2 separate regions of the Homo sapiens genome follow, and region 1 is linked to region 2. The links are contacts of gene promoters, found by promoter capture Hi-C in human tissues and cell types (Jung and others, 2019). All regions are on one chromosome and are shown on one strand. The core of a region is centred on a gene start or on the middle of the fragment in contact, and the rest is flanking DNA. Distances in the headings are between cores, read along the strand shown. Region 1 overlaps ATF7-NPFF (ATF7-NPFF readthrough). Region 2 holds the start of ITGB7 (integrin subunit beta 7).

Region 1 (5,870 bases), core at 1,205-3,704, 360 kb before region 2:
AATTGACAACAGTCTTCTCAGGACTGATAGTTTATAGTTTATAGCTGATATACTTTGGCTGTATCCTCTCCTAAATCTCACCTTGAATTGTAATAATCCCCATGTATTGTGGGAGGGACCTAATGGGAAGTAATTGAATCATGAGGGGCAGGTTTTTCCCATGCTGCTCTCATTGATAGTGAATAAATCTCACTAGATCTGATGGTTTTATAAAGGGGAGTTCCCCTGCACATGCTCTTCTTGCCTACTGCCATGTAAGATGTGACTCTGCTTCTCCTTTGCCTCCCGCCATGATTGTGAGACCTCCCCAGCCATGTGGAACTGTGAGTCCATAAAACCTCTTTCCTTTATAAATTACCCAGTCTTGGGTATGTCGTTATTAGCAGCGAGAGAACAGGCTGATACAATAGCCTTATTGAAAAAAGTCATAAGAGAGTACTATTAAAAAGAGAAGGGGGCCAGGCACAGGGGCTCACACCTGTAATCCCAGCACTTTGGGAAGCTGAGGCAGGTGGATCACTTGAGGTTAGGAGTTTGAGACCAGCCTGGCCAATATGGTGAAACCCCATCTCTACTAAAACTATAAAAATTATCCGGGTGTGGTAGCACACACCTGTAATCCCAGCTACTCAGGAGGCCGAAGTACGAGAATCACTTGAACCTGGGAGGCAGAGGTTGCAGTTAGCCAATATCATGCCACTATACTCCAGTCTGGGTGATGAAGTAAGACTCTGCCCCCTGCCCCCCTCCCCCCCGCCCCCGCCCAGAAAAAGAGAGTGTGAGAGAAGAAAGAGCAAAGAATTATACTTTCTGCTTGACTATGGTGTTTAGGAATCACATAGCAGAAACTGAGATGACCAGGACTTTGGCTAAGTATATCTATACCTATGATGAGGTTGTATTTCTCAATCCCATCAAATAATAAGTAACATTTGAAAAAAAAAAACTAATCTTTTTTAACCCAAACTGGTAAGAAATTATATTTACCACCCTCTTTCCTACATTGCCCAATCCCTGATGGAGTTGGCCTAAATGACCTTTGGAGCTCAGTTTCCTTTTTGCTGTGATTTATTGGGCACCTGCAACTTACTTGGCAGAAGACTTGACCCATGGGGCTCATGAATTTTCACATTTGTCAGGAGGAAGGAACAAGGAACCAAAATAGAAGCAAGTATTGCAGTATGGCTGAGGGCTTAAAACTTAGGTACTTAGAGGAATAGTTATACCATTGGTCTGTATAATGTAAAACAGAGGTGTACAATCTTTTGGCTTCCCTGGGCCACATTGGAAGAAGAATTGTCTTGGGCCACACATAAAAATATACTAACGCCAACAATAGCTGATGAACTAAACAAAAAAAAAATCGCCAAAAAATCTGATAATGTTTTAAGAAAGCTTACGAATTTATGTTGGGCCATGTTGAAAGCCATTCCGGGCTGCATGTGGTCTGCAGGCCAAAGGTTGGACAAGTTTGATGTAGAATAATAATGCATTGCTATTAAACCCAGATCATAACGATGAAGACCCAACAACTCAGTGTTGACTATGGGTTTAAAATTCTTTTTCTGTTCCCCTCTAACTAGCTTGTTGATTTAATTGTAACATACTTTTCCTTTTGTCAGATACTGGAGTGTACGATTTTTTAAAGGAGGAATCCAGTTCTTGACACTGTTTGACACCTATGAGATGCTCATATGCTCATATTCTGCCTGTAAAATTCAAATAATTGAGATCTTAAAAGAAAATGCTCAAAAGGATGTGGTTAAAATTACCACTAGTGGTTTGGGGATTGAAGAAGGAACTTAAAAGGGAATGGCTTGTAAATTCACATTTTTTTGCACAAGGTATTTTAGTTGAGTTTAGTTTATATTTTGAAACAGAGTCTTGCTCTGTCGCCCAGGCTGGAATGCAGTTGTGTGATCTCAGCTCACTGCACCCTCCACTTCCTGGGTTCAGGTGATTCTTGTGCCTCAGCCACCCAAGTAACTGGGATTATCAGGCATGCACCACCATGTCCAGCTAATTTTTATATTTTTAGTAGAGACAGGGTTTTGCCATGTTGGCCAGGCTGGTCTCAAACGCCTAGCCTCAAGTGATCTGCCCACCTCAGCCTCCCAAAGTGCTGGATTACAGGCATAAGCCACTGTATCTGGCCTCACAGGACATTTTAATTGGTAATAAAATTCAGTGCTGGAATCAGATACCCTAAGAAAGTGAATTGACCCACAAAGACCATGGCACCAGTGTCCTTTCATACAACAGCAGTATAACTCTAGCATACTGTAATTGTCTTAGGTGCCTTTCTGTAATAAAGGGAATCTGGTATCAAAAAAAGTAGGCAAGAGGATACACTAATTCTCACTGATTTGAACAGTGAAATTTACTTTGCAAATGGAGTTGGAAAGCCATCAGATCTTTCTGAAAGTGTGCCATGTTAAGGTCTGAGAATCCAAGAGTGATAAAGCTTTTCAACAGTTACTCTTATGTCACTATATAAAACTTTACCCAATCACTGAAGCAATAATTTATTGAGTGCCAAACTGGGCAAGCCCAGAGGTGGGGCAGGTGAAAAGGATAAAAAATAAGTGTGAGACATGTTTTTAACCCTCTAGTAGTTTACAGTCTACTTTGTTTGAGACATCCTTGTTCTGTTGCCCAGGCTGGAGTGCGATGGCACAATCTTGGCTCACTGCAACCTCTGCCTCCAGTTCAAGTGATCCCTCCCACCTCAGCCTTCCTAGTTGGGACTACAGGCACACACCACCACACCTGGCTAATTTTTTTTTTTTCTTTTCGGTAGAGGTGGGGTTTCACCTTGTTGCCCAGACTGGTCTCAAACTCTTGGGGTCAAGCAATTCTCCCGCCTCAGCCTCCCAGAGTGCTGGGATTACAGGTGTGAGCCACTGCGCCTGCCCATACAGTCTACTTTAAAAAGATAAAAATTGTGAGACCATATAGACTAAAATTCTATATGTATAATTATATAAATAAATTTCCATTTGAATACTATACAAGTTCAAGAAAGATAGATCACTGAAGATTGGAGTCATTAGAGAAGCTTTCAAAAAGCTATTGGATTTCAGCTGGGCCTAGAAAAATGGTAGTATTCCAGTAAACAATGGAGAGAGGAACACATTTCAAGGAATATGGGAATGTGTGTGGAGGCACAAAATTGAAAATAAATAGACTTCGCAGATCAGTAAGAGACTGACCTGGGTAGAAAGTGTTAGTAGAAGAATAGCAGAAAATAAAATCATAAACAAGGACAAGAGGACAGAAAGGTAATGTATTTTACATTCCTTTAAAATCTCCTTTGGGAATGATTTCAAACCCACCCCACCCCCAAGAGTCAAATCCTTCCTAATGATTTAAATCCCCATTGCTGCCATTTTGTCTTTTTCCTGTGGTTACAATTTTTGAAATTCTATTTGTTTCTTACTCTGATCTTCTTGCATCCTTGCATTAGGGTATTCTTGGTCCTGACTGGGCCCAGCCTCTGGTTCCGTAGGAAAAAGCTGGTGTTTAAGATAGATACCAACTCTCCTTTTGGATATGGATGATGAAAATTGTCCCACCATTGCACACATGGGCAAAAAAAAATTTTTTTTTTTTTGAGATGAAGTTTCGCTCTTGTCCCCCAGGCTGGAGTGCAGTGGCACAATCTCGGCTCACCGGCCTTCTGGGTTCAAGTGATTCTCCTGCCTCAGCCTCCCGAGTAGCTGGGATTACAGGTGCGTACCACCACACCCAGCTAATTTTTTGTATTTTTTAAGTAGAGACGGGGTTTCACCATGTTGGCCAGGCTGGTCTTGAATTCCTGACCTCAGGTGATCTGCCCGCCTCGGCCTCTCAAAGTGCTGGGATTACAGGCGTGAGCCACCGTGCCCGGCCTACATGGGCAAAAGTTTTGTAGGTTGGGGTTGCTTTGTAGCACTTTAGTGAGACGTGCTAGTTGGCATTTATTCAACAAATATTAAGCACCTACTGTGTACAGATACCGTTCTAGGTGCTTGGGATTTGTCCATGAACAAGCAAATGGAGAGATCCTTGTTCTTGAGGAGCTTACATTGTAGCAGCAGCATGGCAGCTAGACCAACTATCAAATAATATCTCTGCTTTCAAAATTCCTTTTCTTTATACAGTGGACTTATTTGTTAAGCTGCCAGAATCTTTAAGATATTCCAACAGCCTTCCCAAAACAGAAAATTCCTCAATCCATAGACAAATGAATTTACCTTAGGTACAGTTTGGTGGGTTGTCCCCGCTCCTCTGTTTAGTTTGTCCTCCTTCATTCCCCTGACAACATTTTATCTTTGAGTATTTTGGGGGAAAGTTTTCTGTTCTTGTTTTTCCTCTATAAATTATGTCGCTCACACATGCAGCATATGAGCTACTGTTGCTGTGGTTGTATTTTATTTGTTGAACAATCCTGTACTTTGAAATGATTCATTTAAGAGCCATGAAACATTCAAAGCAGGATGTGTGACTCACATAGCAAACAGTAGCATCTTTTTTTTCCTTTTATTTATTTATTTCCCATCATTGGCTAAACATCTTGAAGTAGAGAGCAGGAGCCTAGGATTGACCAAGGTAGAAATGAAAGTTATGTTTGGTTTGAAGTATGTGTGTATTTAATCCCTTCCTTCTTCTCCCTTTCCCTGCTTTCCCAAACTTAAATGATGTCTGACATTGGGAACAGAAGCACTGCAGTGAGGGCAAGAAGCCTTGTCAAGACTTTTACAGATCTTCCAGTTTCTTCTTTCAGAATATGTGATCACTTGAAGTGATTAATTAAATAGTGTTCAAAAAAAAGATCAGTTATTTCTTCCTTCACCTGCTCAGCACCAGCATCACTATTCTAGAACTTACTCCTCATAGTTTTTCTCAAGTTTTCTATGACTTTTTTTTTTTTTTTTTTTAAAGAGACAGTCTTACTCTGTTGACCAGGCTGGAGTGCAGTGGTGCTGTCTTCTGTGACTTTTTCATACTATTTCCTTTCATCAAAATACGCCCCCAAGTATATGGGTGCAGATAAACCCAGCTCTTTGGAAGGCTGAGGTGGGATGATCACTTGAGGCCAAGAGTTTGCAGTCAGCCTGGGCAACATAGCAACACCCCATCTCTAAAGTAAACAAAACAATAGCCCATGGTGGTGCGAACCTGTAGTCCCAGCTACTTGGTAGGCTGAGGTGGGAAGATTGCTTGAGTCTAAGAGTTTGAGGTTACAGTGATCTAAGATCACATCACTGCACTCCAGCCTGAGCTACAGAGTGAGACCCTGTGTAAAAAAAAAAAAAAAAGAAAGAAAAGAAAAAACCAAGCCCAAGTATAGATACTGAATTAAAAGAAAGCAATTCTGTCCATGAAGTACTGCCAAACCCAGAAACTTTGGAGAAAAGGGGTAGTTAGGTTTCAGCATAAATTACTTTTCAGACTATCACAAATGTAAACTCAGTTCCTTGTATTATTTCTTGATAGTTTACACACTCAGGGCTCATTTCCTAATAACTAAAGAGTTCTGATTGTCTTCTTACCCCAGTCTACTCTTCTAAAACAAGGAAAGGGACATGAATTCATCATAGGTCAGGATATTAAGAGCGTTTTTAAATGTGAGGCAAATCCTCATGAAAACGGGTGCTGTGGTGGCCAAAAGCAACATTTCAGGAATGTATCTGGCTAGGAGTTGAGTGCATATTGCAGAGAAATTTCATTGGTCACAATGCTTTACCAAGGAGTTAGCTTGAAACTGTTAGATTCCTAATCCCCGTATGCTTGTGCCTGGCTCAGAGTCAAAAGCCAAAAATTTAGTTTTAGTTTGGCCTTACGTCTCATTTGCTCTGAGCCTTCTTTTCGGGTCTGTTCAGTGCTGC
Region 2 (6,478 bases), core at 3,404-5,903:
TCTGTCCTCCTGAGCCTCTCTCTTTCTCTCTCCATTGTAGGAGCTGAAAGGGCCATTACTCTGAAGATGGAGATTCCAGGCCCGATGCCTCCCTTAATCCGAGAGATGCTGGAGAACCCTGAAATGTTTGAGGATGACTCCTCGCAGCCTGGTCCCCACCCCAATGCCTCTAGCGAGGATGAGGTTCCTGGGGGCCAGGGCAAAGGGGGCCTGAAGTCCCCAGCCTGACCAGGGCCCCTGACCTCCCCGCTGTGGGGGTTGGGGCTTCAGGCAGCAGACTGACCATCTCCCAGACCGCCAGTGACTGGGGGAGGACCTGCTCTGCCCTCTCCCCACCCCTTCCAATGAGCTCCTTGTTTTTGCCAAAGTTTCTAGGGGTGCCTCTGTGTTCATCCCCTTCCTGATCTAACCGGCTCCCTCGCCAGTCCCGGGGGCCTGCCCTGCTCCCACCAGGAGAGAGGGCAAAGGGATGAGCCTGGGTTTGGACTCTAAAATCTCAGCACTGCCCCATGGGTCCTAGACTTCCCAGGGCAAGAGGAAGACCCTGCCATTCCACAGCCCCTTCCTCTGCCAGGTGCTTGGCTCTCTGAGAGCAAACAGGAACACTAGAGACCAAAAAGGGGACAAAGGAGAAGGGCTGAGCCCACCTTCTTGCTCCTACCCTTGGTGCCTAATGCTGTGTGATGCACCTGCAGGGTGTGTGCTAGCCTCTGTGCCCCGTCCTTGTGCCAGGTCAAGGTGGGGGCAGGCTGGGCCCTGCATTTCTGGGGCAGGAACAGAGGGTGAAAGGGACAGATAGATGCAGGTCCATTCTGCACCTCTTGGCTCGGGTGCAGAGTTCACCCTGTGCCCTCCGTTATAAGTCCCTCCCCCAGCCCTGTCATGTGCCTTGGGCTCCTCCTGCCCTCCATCTCAGCCATTGGGGCAGGGACCCTCCTACACTACAGAGGGGCCAGGGGATCCCTCTCTCCCTAGTGCCTTCCACCCTTTACTCCCCAGAGCAGCTTGGCCCAGGGAGGGGGGATGCTGCTTAGCTGATCCCGCCCTGACCCAGAGGAAGCCTCTATTTATTTATTAGCTTTTGTTTACACCGTGGAATTGACCCCTTCCTCCAGGGGTCTTGGGTGGGGGAGCCCAGGGCCCCTGTGACCCCTCCTTTCTTCCTCCAATCCCCAGTTTGTATTTAGCTGCCAAATAAGATTCCCATTGGCTCCCTGTGTTCTCTTGGGGGGTCAGGGTGCTGTCCCCTCCCCTCTGTTTACATCTCCCCTCTACCCCGCTGTATCGCATATTGCTGAGTTTTCTATTTTTGCAAAATAAAGTGATGGAAACTCATGAGATGTGGCTCCCTTTAGGAGGTGGTAGGGAAATGACCAGCTGACCTGGTGAGGGAGCTGAGTGAGGAGGGAAAGCTTGTAATTGATTGGACTTTGCAGCTTTCTTGGTAGAAGAAAACAGGATGAAGTGTGCCTGGATTGTGGTGGGGACAGGATGGGGGAAAGGGAGCCCATGGGGACTCACCCTGAGTGACCGGGTTTCCCACAACCACCAGGTGTGGGTTCAGAATCTCACTCTGTCGCCCATGCTGGAGTGCAGTGGTGTGATCTCGGCTTACTGTAACCTCCACTTCCCAGGTTCAAGCAATTCTCTTGCCTCAGCCTCCCGAGTAGCTGCAATTACAGGGGTGCACCACCACGCCCAGCTAATTTTTTTTATTTTTAGTAGAGACAGGTTTCGCCATGTTGGCCAGGCTGGTCTCGAACTCCTGACCTCAGGTGATCCGCCTGCCTTGGACTCCCAAAGTGCTGGGATTACAGGCGTGAGCCACTGCGTCTAGCTTGGTGTGGGTTCTTATGTTGGATCCTGTGGATCTCTGGGAGGGCATGAATGGACTTCAGAGGTCTGTAAGCCTGTCTCCACCTCCAGTTATGCATATGTGCATATCTGCTTTTCTCTGGGGAAGGAGTCCATTGAAGTTTTATTTATCTTTTTGTTTTTCATTTTTTTTCTTGAGACGGAATTTCACTCCTGTTGCCCAGTCTGGAGTGCAGTGGTGTGATCTTGGCTCACTGCAACTTCTGCCTCCCGGGTTCAAGCGATTCTCCTGCCTCAGCCTCCCAAGTAGCTGGGATTACAGGGGCGCACCACCATGCTCAGCTAATTTTTGTATTTTTAGTAGAGATGGGGTTTCACCATGTTGGCTAGGCTGGTCTCGAACTCCTGACCTCAAGTGATCCACCTACTTCAGCCTCCCAAAGTGTTGAGATTACAGGCGTGAGCCACCATGCCTGCCCTGAAGTTTCATTTAGTTCTCATGAGGGCTCCTGGCCCCAGAAGAGAAGAAGCCCGCATCTAAGCTACAGTGTTACTGTTTTACACCAGCCCCTCACCCAGGGAGCCCTCTGGCCTTCTGTCCCCAACCACCCTGCTATCACCTTATACCTTACTCCCCCCACCCTCTCTGTTCCCACTCTTCACCCCATGACCTCCACTCACTGCCACCTGCACTGTTACCTTCTTTCCGAATATCTGTCCTTGCTCCCACACGCCTTCCCTCTGCAACACGCCTTTGCAGTGCCTTTGGCCTCTACTGCTGCACCCTGTACTCTTCCCTTCGCCCTCTGTGACTCCCCTCAAGCCCCTCCTCCGTGTCCTACCTTCCCTGGGACAGTGCCTTGCCTACCTTGTTCCTGGCTCTCTTCATTGGTGACCTGTGGTTATGACAAAAAAGTTGAGGATGTGGGAGTAGGGGAGAGAAGAGTGGAGGGCGGAAAGCAGAAGAAGAAAGTGAAAGAAGCTCTAGAGGAAACCACAGGGCCTGTGGGGAAGGAGGGTCATTGCCGTGGTAACCCCTGGTTGTGGGGGAAGGGTATAGGTCCTGGCTATCCCATAGCCTGAGGCCAGCCAAGCCCACCCAGAGAAAGAGCCCCTCCTCTCCAATTGTCCCCTCCTAGCAGCTACACCTCTGCAATCCATCTGACATTTATTGAGCACCTACTATAAGATGGGCACTTGGCTAGGTGTGGTGGCTCCAGCAGGGAAGCCTTGTAGAGCCAGTCCCTGCCTACAAGGAGTGCTCCTTCTGGTAGGGGAGATCGACCTGTGAACACAGACCTCATGTCTAGTTCCCTCTCAAAGCTCTTAGTGATCTGTATGGGCCAGGAGCAAATCCCATTAATATTTTCCTGCTCTCCCTACGGGCTTCATCCTTGCCTTGGCTTCAGCTGTTGTTCCTGCACTCTCTGCTTCTCCCAGTTCACCTCCTCCACCCCTTTCCCAGGATCCACTACTGTGTTGGCTCCTGGTTCCCCAATCACATGCTCTGAGCCTGGCCCTATGCCTCTCTCTTCCAAGTTTCCAGTTGTGTGGACCTTGAATTTCTCAAAGCCTCTTCACTTCTCACCTCTGCTACTTCTCATCCCTACTAATTCTCTTATCAAGCCCTTACTTAGTATGTGCCAGGTAGTCTTGTAGGCAATTGATATGAATTATCTCTTTTAATTCTCACGACAATCCTGTGAGTCTTGCTGGACAGATGAGAAAACAGCTGCAGGCAGGTTTAAGTAACTCAGCTAAGCTCCTTACTACTAGTAAGTAGTAGAGCCAGGATTTGAACTCTAGCAACTTGGCTCCAGAGCCTATGTAGTCAAGCACACTTATATAATGTATCCTGGGTTTTCAAAATGAACAAGTCTGTAATTTCTGGCCTCTCTACAGTACTTACTGCCCCTATTCCCTCCTATCATGTTCCTTCCTATATAAGTAAATGGAGAGATCATGAATTTTGGAGGCAGGCAGACCTGGATTTAAATCCCAGACCAGCCGAGTGTGCCTGTAATCCCAGCTACTCAGGAGGCCAAAGTGGGAGGATTGCTTGAGTCCAGGAGTTACAGACCAGCCTGGGCAACACAGCAAGACCCTGTCTCAAAAATAAAAAACAGGCTGGGCATGGTGGCCCACACCTGTAATCCCAGCACTTTGGGAGGCCGAGGTGGGCAGATCAATTGAGGTCAAGAGTTTGAGACCAGCCTGGCCAACATGGTGAAACCCCGTCTCTATTAAGAATATAAAACGTTGCTGGGCATGGTAGTGCACCCCTGTAATCCCAGCTATTCGGGAGGCTGAGGCAGGAGAATCGCTTGAACCTGGGAGGCGGAGTTTGCAGTGAGCTGAGATTGTGCCATGGGACAGTGAGCTGAGATTGTGCCTGGGAAACAGAGCAAGACCCTGTCTCAAAAGTTAAATTAAATTAAAATAAAAAAAATAAAATAATAAAAATTTAAAATAAAAATCTTTTTTCTTTTTTTTTTTTAAATCCTAGACTAGCTACTTACTAGCTGTGGGACCTTGGGCAAAATTCTTTATTTCCTGCTTCCAAGCCTCAATCTCTGCATCTGTAAAATTGGGGCTTGGGGGAATATTAACCCCTATCTTATGAGATTGTTGTGAGGGTTAATTGTAATATGTTACGTTCAACACATGACAGGGGTTCAATAAATGGGCTTCTTTCTTCCAGATCTCTGTATTGTCCACTCCCTTGGCTCAGCCCCACCCCTATCTGCACCACCTTCTAGATCAGTCACCCCCACCAACCCCAAATCTTCCCCACCCTGGGGAGTGTCACTTCCTCCTCTGCCGTCTCCCAGATCAGTACACAAAGGCTGCTGCTGCCGCCAGAGGAAGGACTGCTCTGCACGCACCTGTGAGTACCAGGGCACCAGCCCTTCTGCCTCCTCTCCTTACAAGCTCTGGCCCACCTGGTCCCAACCTCTTGGGAAGAGGGCTCTGACCTGGATACCGAGGGTCCTGTCCAGACTTGAGAAAGGCTCTGAACTCCTTTCTGCATTCCTAAGATCCCCTGACCTGGTTCCCTCCTCCAGTTTCACAGTACCCCCACCTCCACCTCTCCAAAAGCCCAATCTCTCCTGCATCAGTTTCCCATGAGTGGGTCTGGAGGCAGGGATGTATATGAGTGCTGTCATCTGAGTGCCTGCCATGTGCCAAGGACTATACCGAAGTAGGGCAGGTATACCGATTATACTGAGGGAGGGTTCTTCCAACATCACCCCCAGCTGCTATCCCTAATGCTCTGCCTTCAGCTCAGACTTCTTCCTAATCGGCACCTTGGTCACAGACTCCACTGTCCTGGGACACTGAGGCCCAGCAGCTCAGTTCCGTCCCCTCCTTGTGACTCCCAGTGGGCAGCAGAGGGTTCTGCTTGATTTGGAAGGTAGGGATGGGTTTGGAAGAGGCTCTGTTTCTCAGCTGCTGAGGGGGGTCACAGGGTGTGTACTGGAGTCAGAATGGAGTCCAGAAAAATGGAAATAACCACTTGGTCCCAGAGAGAGAAGGGAAGACTGCAGAATACCCCTAAGGAAAGAGAAATGGGATTAGGCAGAGCCCACCAGGGCTAGTGGGGAGAGAACACAACTTTTGATGGAGATAGTGCCTGGGTTGGAGGGAGGAAAGGAGAAAGCACAGCAGAGGCCTGGCCCTGCCCTGTCCTGCCCTGCCCCTAGTTCACTGGGTGACCCTGGCCTCATGGAATTTAGGTTTCCATTTGTAAAAAGAGTGGGATGGAGTAGTAGATTCAGCCATTCTATAGTTAGGAACAGAGGGGAAAAGGAAGTAAAATAGCCCTATGAAGAAGTGGAGCAGAGAAAAGCAGCAGAGAGATGCAATAGAAGTTTTGAAATGAAAGGAGCCAGAGAGAGACAGAGAAGCAGACAGAGAAATAGGTGGCAGAACATGTATTCTCAAGGAGGGGAGAAGAGAGGATAATTGGAAAGAAAGGTAGGAAAGGGCTGTCCAGGAAGTCCCAGGGCCCCCTTTAAGGGGAGATGAGTGGGCCTAAGGTCTCTGAAAAACCTATGCGGCAGCCGGGGCTCCACTTGTGAGAGATGAGTCAAAACCCGGCTTTGGGTTGCAGCATCTCCAGCCTCCCTGACCACAGGCATGCAGAGCAAGCAGGGCTGAGGTTACGCTGAGGCTGAGCTGGGACTGGCCTCTCCCCGAGGGGTGGAGGCTCCGTTATATATGGCGCCTGAGGTCACAGGTGGTGGGGAGCAGGACCAGGACATTCAAGGACTCAACACCCCACCCCTTTCCCACACTCTGTGCAGAGTATCTGGACCTGACTCTGGGCCCAGGCTGAAGAAGATGCAAATGGTTTATGACAAGGAGTTAGTTGGCCTTTCTCATACATTGCTGATGGGAATGTGGACCAGTACAAGTCCTGAAGAGTTTATGTTGGCAATACCCACCTATATATATATATTTCTTAGCATGAGAATGTAGATGAAATACACACCAGTATTACAAATGATACCTATCTAGTTATCCTGCACGTCCTCTGCTAGGGATTTATCCTACAGATTCAGTTGCAGACGTGTGAAATGATAAATACATGACATTTGGCTGGGGGTGATGGCTCACGCCTGTAATCACGGCAATTTGGGAGGCCGAGGCAGGTGGGTCG

What was found. Contacts are between HindIII fragments. The study calls those that stand out against the background at their distance.
Region 1: a contact is called between a fragment that was not itself captured here and the fragment with the promoter of ITGB7 in region 2, in 1 of the 25 tissues and cell types used here (heart left ventricle).

Annotation. Positions count from the first base shown.
Region 1 is chr12:53,560,379-53,566,248 of GRCh38, reverse strand. The region is part of intron 2 of ATF7-NPFF (ATF7-NPFF readthrough); the gene reads left to right. All of the region lies in intron 2 of ATF7 (activating transcription factor 7), which reads left to right. All of the region lies in intron 2 of LOC124902937 (a long non-coding RNA gene), which reads right to left. Among named protein-coding and RNA genes, the nearest start is that of ATF7-AS1, 49 kb to the right of the region's middle. The HindIII fragment of the contact is 4,567 bases long and covers 171-4,737 here.
Region 2 is chr12:53,205,426-53,211,903 of GRCh38, reverse strand. It overlaps ITGB7 (integrin subunit beta 7), which reads left to right and starts at 4,653. Exons shown (of 16, transcript NM_000889.3): 1 at 4,653-4,702. It overlaps RARG (retinoic acid receptor gamma), which reads left to right. Exons shown (of 10, transcript NM_000966.6): 10 at 41-1,335. The coding sequence ends at 228. The HindIII fragment of the contact is 22,503 bases long and covers 1-6,478 here.